Regions from separate parts of the Homo sapiens genome. Here region 2 is linked to region 1. Evidence: promoter capture Hi-C in human tissues and cell types (Jung and others, 2019). All regions are on one chromosome and are shown on one strand. The core of a region is centred on a gene start or on the middle of the fragment in contact, and the rest is flanking DNA. Distances in the headings are between cores, read along the strand shown.

What was found. The method cuts DNA at HindIII sites, captures the fragments that hold promoters and counts their contacts. A contact is called where the count stands out against the background at its distance.
Region 2: a fragment that was not itself captured here is called in contact with the fragment with the promoter of ZNF251 in region 1 in 1 of the 25 tissues and cell types used here (H1 embryonic stem cells).

Annotation. Positions count from the first base shown.
Region 1 is chr8:144,754,158-144,757,912 of GRCh38, reverse strand. ZNF251 (zinc finger protein 251) reads left to right here and starts at 2,382. Exons shown (of 5, transcript NM_138367.2): 1 at 2,382-2,508; 2 at 3,110-3,217; 3 at 3,592-3,721. The coding sequence starts at 3,185. It overlaps LOC107986986 (a long non-coding RNA gene), which reads right to left. Exons shown (of 3, transcript XR_001746149.3): 3 at 1-607. The HindIII fragment of the contact is 22,211 bases long and covers 1-3,755 here.
Region 2 is chr8:144,388,097-144,391,913 of GRCh38, reverse strand. ADCK5 (aarF domain containing kinase 5) reads right to left here. Exons shown (of 15, transcript NM_174922.5): 4 at 1,168-1,243; 5 at 858-1,058; 6 at 640-780; 7 at 440-553; 8 at 203-334; 9 at 48-131. Among named protein-coding and RNA genes, the nearest start is that of MIR939, 4.2 kb to the left of the region's middle. RefSeq lists an enhancer at 2,964-3,465. The HindIII fragment of the contact is 8,607 bases long and covers 1-3,817 here.

The sequences.
Region 1 (3,755 bases), core at 1,133-3,632:
ATCTGGCCCCTATGGTTTGCTGTCATCTTGTGTGTCTAGGGACACAGGCTGCTGATCATGCTGTAGCTGTTTGAGTAAGAAATAAACAATCTAGGCTGGGCACAGTGGCACACACCTGTAATCCTAGCACTTTGGGAGGCCGACGCAGGTGGATCACTTGAGGTCAGGAGTTTGCCACCAGCCTGACTAATATGGTGAAACCCCGTCTCTACGAAATACAAAAAAATTAGCTGGACATGGTCCTGCATGCCTGTAATCCGAGCTACTTGTGAAGCTGAGACAGGAGAATCACTTGTACCTGGGAGGTGGAGGTTGCAGTGAGCCAAGATCTCACCATTGCGCTCCAGCGTGGGCAACAAGAGTAAAACTCCACCTCAAAAAAAAGAAAGAAAGAAACAATCTCTATCTTTTGTGCTCATTGCTGATCAAATCCATGTAAATATGGCAAACCAGCCTAGCATCTGTGGCAGTTGACGCCGGTAACCCTGTCAGCTGCTGGATTGCTGCCTAGGGACTGCTTGGATGCTTGGCAGTTGGTAGCCCTGTAAATAGGAAATATCCATTAGGAGAGCCTGCAGCCACCAGTCACAGAGTGATTACACGCCCCCTGTAGGAGATGTGAAAAAGAAAAAGAGGAAATCAAATATTCTGCAATCTTACAACTAGTAATGATGTATTTATTTTCAGCTTTTTATATACGTTTTTCAAGCACTTCCCAAGTATTTATAGAGTACTTACTATGTTCCAGGCTGGTGGCTGAGCAGTGAACAAACCAACCTAGGTCCTTATATCTGGAAACCTTAAGTTTGTGAACTTAAACACCCATATATACAATTGAGATCATATCATAAATATAATTTTGTATTCTATTTTTCACATTCTATTTCATAAGCATTACCCTCTGCCAATACTTTTTTTTCAAATACCACACATAATGGCTGCATAATGTTCAACTGAGTGTACAGAAGACAATAGATTTATCTATTTCTGTGCTGCAAAAAGCATAATTATCTTCCATTTCCCCTTCTATGAATAACTAGCTATTTTCCAAATTCTCCCCATTATTTAAAAAAAACCACACACACAACAAACTCTGGAATGGGCACCCTTCTCTTTGTCATTTTTGTTATTTCCATAGGATAGATTCCTAGATTAATTGAAGTGTTTAAGGCTCTTTATGTACAGCTTAATTCATTTTCAACATTGTACTAAACACGCTTCCTCAAGCATAGCAGTGCGTAATTCTCCACAATCTCCCCAGCACTGATATTAATAATGTAAGGCATCTTCTTAATCATGTGTGACTTTGCATGGTGCTTTAGACTTCTAGACATTCTCCATCCTCGTTGATCGTCTCAAGTTCAGATATAAAATTTCTGCCTTGATTCTAACACAGTGTACAGGGCCTACACTATATTCTGGGTGACAAGATGGCTTGGCTTTCCTTTCCTTCTCCCCCTGCTCCTAAGCTGGTCTCCTCACCTTTATCAAGTGCTATTTTTTCAACCATGCTTTATTGTGTAGGGGCCAAAGGGAAAGTTCCTCTTTGCCCTCTGAAGGTTCACTGAAAGCCAACTCATAAAAGGCAGATTTTTGGAGAAAAGGCAAATAAATGGATTATTTATTTATTTATTATTTATTTTTGAGATGGAGTCTCGCTCTGTCACCCAGGCTGGAGTGCAGTGGCGCGATCTCGGCTCACTGCAACCTCCGCCTCCCGGGTTCAAGCGATTCTCCCGCCTCAGCCTCCGGAGTAGCTGGGACTACAGACGCCCGCCACCACGCCCGGCCTTTACCGCCAGTTTTCACACAGAAAAGCGGGGGGAACATCAGAGTCGTGTTTTTAGGTTTTGTGGCTGGCTTTGGGGGTCTGGCCTCTGGGACTCGCCTTGGGTAAAAGGGATTCACTCTGTGAGGAGCCTCGCGGGAGAAAAGAACTGAGACTGGAGGCCTGGGAAGGTCAGAGGGAAACTGCCTCCCAGGCCTTCATTTTGGGGCGTTGTGTTCTGAGCCCCGATAATTGTAACATCTTCATAAGCGACTTTCTGGTGGTTATGGTGAATCGGGACACACGATGTATGGTGACCGACGGGGGAGCCGGGAGCCCAGCGGGGTTAGGGTTCAGGTGAGGGTTTAGGGTCGGGGCGAGCGCGGCGCGGCCCGGATGCGCAGCGTCACCGCGCCAGACCCTCCGCTCAGCTGCCGTGGGCTCTCCCCCTCCCCGACCATAGACGGCGCAGGCCTCCAGTCATCCCAGAGCGGCCCCGGAAGAATCCGGGCGGAACCGCGGCTGGCTTCCGGTTCCCGGCGTTCTCGGAGGCGTACTGAGGCCCCGCAGGGGGCGGGGAAGCCTGCGTGTGCGCAGCTCGGCCCGGCCCGCCCTCTTCATCCTAGCCCGCCCCCTCCCCGGCTCTGGACCCGGTTCTGTGGGAGGGTCCGTTCCGGGCTCGGTGCGACTGCGCAGCTCCTCGGCGCTTCCTCGGTGGCTTCCCCGGGTCGAGCAAACAGGTGGGGCAGTGTCGGACCAGGAAGGAGCGCCAAGCGGGCAGGCAGGCGGGGAGGGCGCGGGGAGGGCGCGGGGAGGCGGCGGCCAGTCCAGGAGGAGCCTGTTCTGGGTGCCGCGGGAGCCACCGACGGGCTGCAGAGGCCGGGAGGAGGCGACCGCGGCGCGGCCCTAGAAGGCTGGACTGAGGACCACAGCTGGCTTCCGGCCTCTCCCCGGAGCCTGGGGCCTTCGGCAGCATCCCCGCGGCCTCCTTCTCACGTCCTCAGCCTTGGTGAGGCTGCACCCTCACGTGGCTCTTTGCCCCAGGTTGGCCAGGCAGGTAGAACGGCCCTGCACCCCATTTCCAGGGCCTTCAGCAGGTCTGGACCACGGGAACTGCCAGCTTTCACCCCTTAGCCGGGCGTCCCTGGATCCCCCCGGGCTCTGGCTCTGGCCGTTCTGGGATTTCAGGAGTCACTGAGCAGTAGGGCACGTCGGCCCGTGCTGCATAGTGACCTGCCTCCCGCGACCCAGGAGGCCACAGCAGCAATCAGCTTCTGCCTCCTGGCCATCCTTCCACACCCCTGGTTGAATGGGGCTGAGCCTGAGTTCTCCCCACTGAAGGTAAGTTCGGGGAGACTTCAGGCCAGGGCAGTCTCCTGTCTTCTCTTGGAAACCACAGCAGCCCATGCACACAGAATGGCAGCCACATTCCAGCTTCCAGGGCACCAGGTGAGTTAACCCTCCTTCCTGCCCACCTCTTCATCTTCATCCCCATCCCAGTCAGAAGCTACTCTCCTCTGGAGCCGTGAGCCCGGCAACTGGTAAGGCCAGCCAGGGGCTCATAGCAACCGTGAGGAAAGGGTTCTGAGAGGTAGACTCGCCCTCCTGCAGGGAGAGGGGCTCTGAGCTCAGCTGGGTCCCCGTGTAGCTGAAGTTGGCTGGTCCTCAGCGCTCTCAGCTGCCCCATCAGGGACCTGCTGATACACAGTTCATACTGACCACAGCAGGGCCCTGGGTAGTGGGGCCCCACCAGGTCAGGGCCCTTTTAGTGCAGGCTGCTGCCCCGTGGGCATGGCCTGGGCAGCGGCGATGTTTTGTTGCAGGAGATGCCGCTGACCTTCCAGGATGTGGCCGTGTACTTCTCTCAGGCGGAGGGGCGGCAGCTGGGCCCCCAGCAGCGGGCGCTCTACCGGGATGTGATGCTGGAGAACTATGGGAACGTGGCCTCTCTGGGTGAGGCTCTCTGCACTTGGCCTGGTTCGCAGTG
Region 2 (3,817 bases), core at 634-3,133, 370 kb after region 1:
ACACAGCACCAGCCCGCCCTGACCCGCCCCCGCCCCCCCGCACTCACGTCATGCACTGCCAGCCCCTGGCTCCTGATGGCCTCCACATCGTTGACCTTGCAGCCGGCGCAGAAGTCGGCAGTGAGCACGCGCTGGGGAGAGCAAGAGGCTGGGCTCAGCAGGCCCAGCGCTGTGCCCACCCCAAGGGCCTGGCCCAGCCCACCTTGCTGGACTTGTCCCAGTGCACGCGGGGCACCACGACGTAGGGGAAGTGCGCCAGCTCCCGCGCACAGCGCTCTGCGTTGCGGCCCTCATTCTCGAAGTCCAGCTCCTGGGCCAGGGTCCCCTTCAGGTCCTGGGGGCCAGATGGCGGTTGAAGACCAGCTCTGCCTACCAGCTGCTCCTACCAGCTCTGCCTACGTGTTTGCTCCTGCTGGCCGGGGAAGGGGTGGGGCTGTACCTGGAGGACCCAGCTGAAGCCAAAGCTGGGGTGCATGACCTCAACGAGCCGCAGCAGGAGCTCCAGGGTGTGGATGTCCCCATCAAAGCGGTCCCGCAGGTCGATGTACTGCACCTGCACTGGGCGAGGGTGTGGTGAGAACTTGGGGCCCCACTGTGCCCCGCCCCAGCCCACTGCTGAACAAGGCAGCCCCCATATACCTTCACAGCCACGCTGGTGCCATCGTGCAGCTTGGCTCTGTGCACCTGTGCCAGGCTGGCGGCAGCAATTGGCTGGTAGTCAAACTCCTGGAAGAGCTCGTGGGGGAGGGCCTGGAAGTCCTCAAGGAACAACTCATCCACCTGGAAGGACAGGTGCTCAGAGCAGCCTGGGGCCACTGCTGGAGGCCCCACCTCCCTCGGCCTGAGCGCACACTCACCTCCTGGAAGCCCCGCTTGAGGGCCCTGTCCTCTAGCACGCGCAGGGTCCGGGTATACTCGGGGGGAAGCAGGTGGTTGAAGGAGCACAGCCCCTGGCCCAGCTTCACGTAGAGGCCCCCGTTGCTGATGGCCCCTGCCACCAGGGCATCAGCCGCCCGCTGGTGACACGCAGACATCACCTCCAAGTAGCCTGGGCTGTTCTGACCACAGGCATGGGGAGAACACATGGGGACAGGTGGCTGCCTCCTCAGTCCCACCCAGCCCACCACCTCATGCCCACCACTGTGTGCCCAGGGCACCAGGACAAACCTCTTCCACCCCTCGAAGGACAACATTGGTGCACCACCAGTAGTCCAGGGAGATCTGCAGGCCGACCTTCAGAGACCTGCGGGCAGAGGTGGCCTCAGTCTCCAGCGGGGCAGGCTCGGGGCCCCGGTGCTTGGTCCTCTTGTCAGAGCCCTCATGGTCTAGCCTCACCCCGGCCAGCCCTTCATGTCCCAAGGGTGAGGCCAAGCCAGGGTCCAGCCTACAGCCGCGTAGGCCTGTGTGAGCACAAGGGGTGCTGCTGAGCTCGTGGGGTGTCCTGTGGCCCTGCAGGTCAGTCTCAGCTCAAGATCAGTAGAACGGGGCCAGGTGTGGTGGCTCATGTCAATTATCCCATCACATTGGGAGGCTGTGCTGGGAGGATCACTTGAGCTCAGGAGTTCGAGACTGGCCTGGGCAACATGTTGAAACCCTGTCTCTACCAAAAATGCAAAAAAATTAGGCAGGCACGGTGGTGCACACCTGTGGTCCCAGCTCCTCAGGAAGCTGAGGCAGGAGGATCGTTTGAGCCTAGGAGGTGGAGACTGCAGTAAGCTGAGATTGCACCACTGCACCCCAGCCTGGGCAACAGAGCGAGACTCCGTCCAAAAAAGATCTGCAGAGCTGGGCACAGTGGCTCACGCCTGTAATCCCAGCACTTTGGGAGGCCGAGGTGAGTGGATCACCAGAGGTCAGGAGTTCAAGACCAGCCTGGCCAACATGGTGAAACCCCATTTCTACTTAAAATACAAAAAAATTAGCCGGGTGTGGTGGTGCACACCTGTAATCCCAGCTACTCGGGAGACTGAGGCAGGAGAATTGCTTGAACCCGAGAGGCAGAGGTTGCAGTGAGCCAAGATCGCGCCATTGCACTCCAGCCTGGGCAACAAGAGCGAAACTCGGTTTCAAAAAAAAAAAAAAGAGGCTGGGCTTGGTAGCTCACACCTATGATCCCAGCACTTTGGGAGGCCGAGGCGGGCAGATCACAAAGTCAAGAGATTGAGGCCATCCTGACCAACATGGTGAAACCTAGTCTCTACTAAAAATACAAAAATTAGCTGGGCATGGTGGTGCGTGCCTGTAGTGCCAGCTACTCAGGAGGCTGAGGCAGGAGAATCACTTGAAGTCAGGAGGCGGGTTTCGGTGAGCTAAAATTGCGCCACTGCACTCCAGCCTGGCGACAGAGCGAGACTCCGTCTCAAAAAACAAAAAAAGATCTGCAGAATGGGCAGCCTGTGTCCATGCCACCCTCACTCCCTGCCACCCTCAAGGGTGCCCAGGTGAGATGGGGTAGGGGACAGTATGGACGGTGGCATCCTCTGGAGAGATGGGGTTCCAAGGCTGTCTGTGAAGGTAAAGGATGGCAGCAAGGGGGCAGGGCTGAGGCAGCAGAGGTCACAGGAGGGTCAAGGTCACCTGCAGCCTGAGGTCCACTAGGAAGAGAGGAGGACACCAGGAGGGTGGGTCTCCAAGGCCTGGGGAGGCAAGGTCTGCAGGGAAGAGAGCCCAGTTAAGGCAGGAAGTGGGGGACATCCTGGGTATCTGTTGAGCAGGTACTGGGCTCCTGGGGGAGATTTAGGCAAGAGGATGGGGTAGAGGGGTGTCCCCAGGCCTGGCCCCAGTTAGGAGGATATCAGGGTGGGAGCCCTGGGAGAACTCTGGGGACCAGCTGGGCAGCCCTGGAATGAGGCGCCAGGCAGCGGGCAGACCACACACAGGTGCACAGGGAGGGGCTGAGGTCAGAGTGGCTTCTCCAAGGCTGGCCATGGCCAGAGGCCTGTCCCTGCGTTCTGTGAAGCTCACGTACCTGCCTGGGGACAGGGCCCACAGTCATTCCTGAAGCGCAGCTCTGGCGCTCAGGTGGACTCTGTGTCCCCCATCAACCCAGGGCGACCCCCCGGCCATTCAGGCCCCACTCTGGCCCCCGTAGAGCATCTGGAGTGCGTGCTTGGGTTAGGCCAGGGTTTCGGTTTCTTTTTTTTTTTTTTTGGAGACGGAGTCTCGCTCTGTCGCCCAGGCTGGAGTGTGGTGGCGATCTTGGCTCACTGCAGGCTCCGCCTCCCAGGTTCACGCCGTTCTCCTGCCTCAGCCTCCAGAGTAGCTGGGACTACAGGCGCCCAACACCACGCCCGGCTAATTTTTTTGTATTTTTAGTAGAGATGGGGTTTCACCGTGTTGGCCAGGATGGTCTCGATCTCCCGACCTCGTGATCCGCCCACCTTGGCCTCCCAAAGTGCTGGGATTACAGGCGTGAGCCACCGTGCCCGGCTCTAACTTTTCTACTATTAAAATTTGTTATAGTAAACACAACACTTTTGTAACAAAACTTAAAGATGTGAAAAAGTCCCACAGACTTGTGCTTGGGGGAGAAGGAATTTAATTTTTTTTTTTTTTTTGAGATGGAATCTCGCTCTGTCGCCCAGACTGGAGTGCAGTGGCACAGTCTAGGCTCACTGCAACCTCCGCCTCCCAGGTTCAAGCAATTCTCCCGCCTCAGCCTCCCGAGGAGCTGGGACTACAGGTGCCCACCACATGCCCAGCTAATTTTTCTATCTTTAGTAGAGATGGGGTTTCTCCACGTTGGTCAGGCTGGTCTCGAACTCCTGACCTCGTGATCCGCCCTCCTCGGCCTCCCAAAGCATTTTCACATTGCATT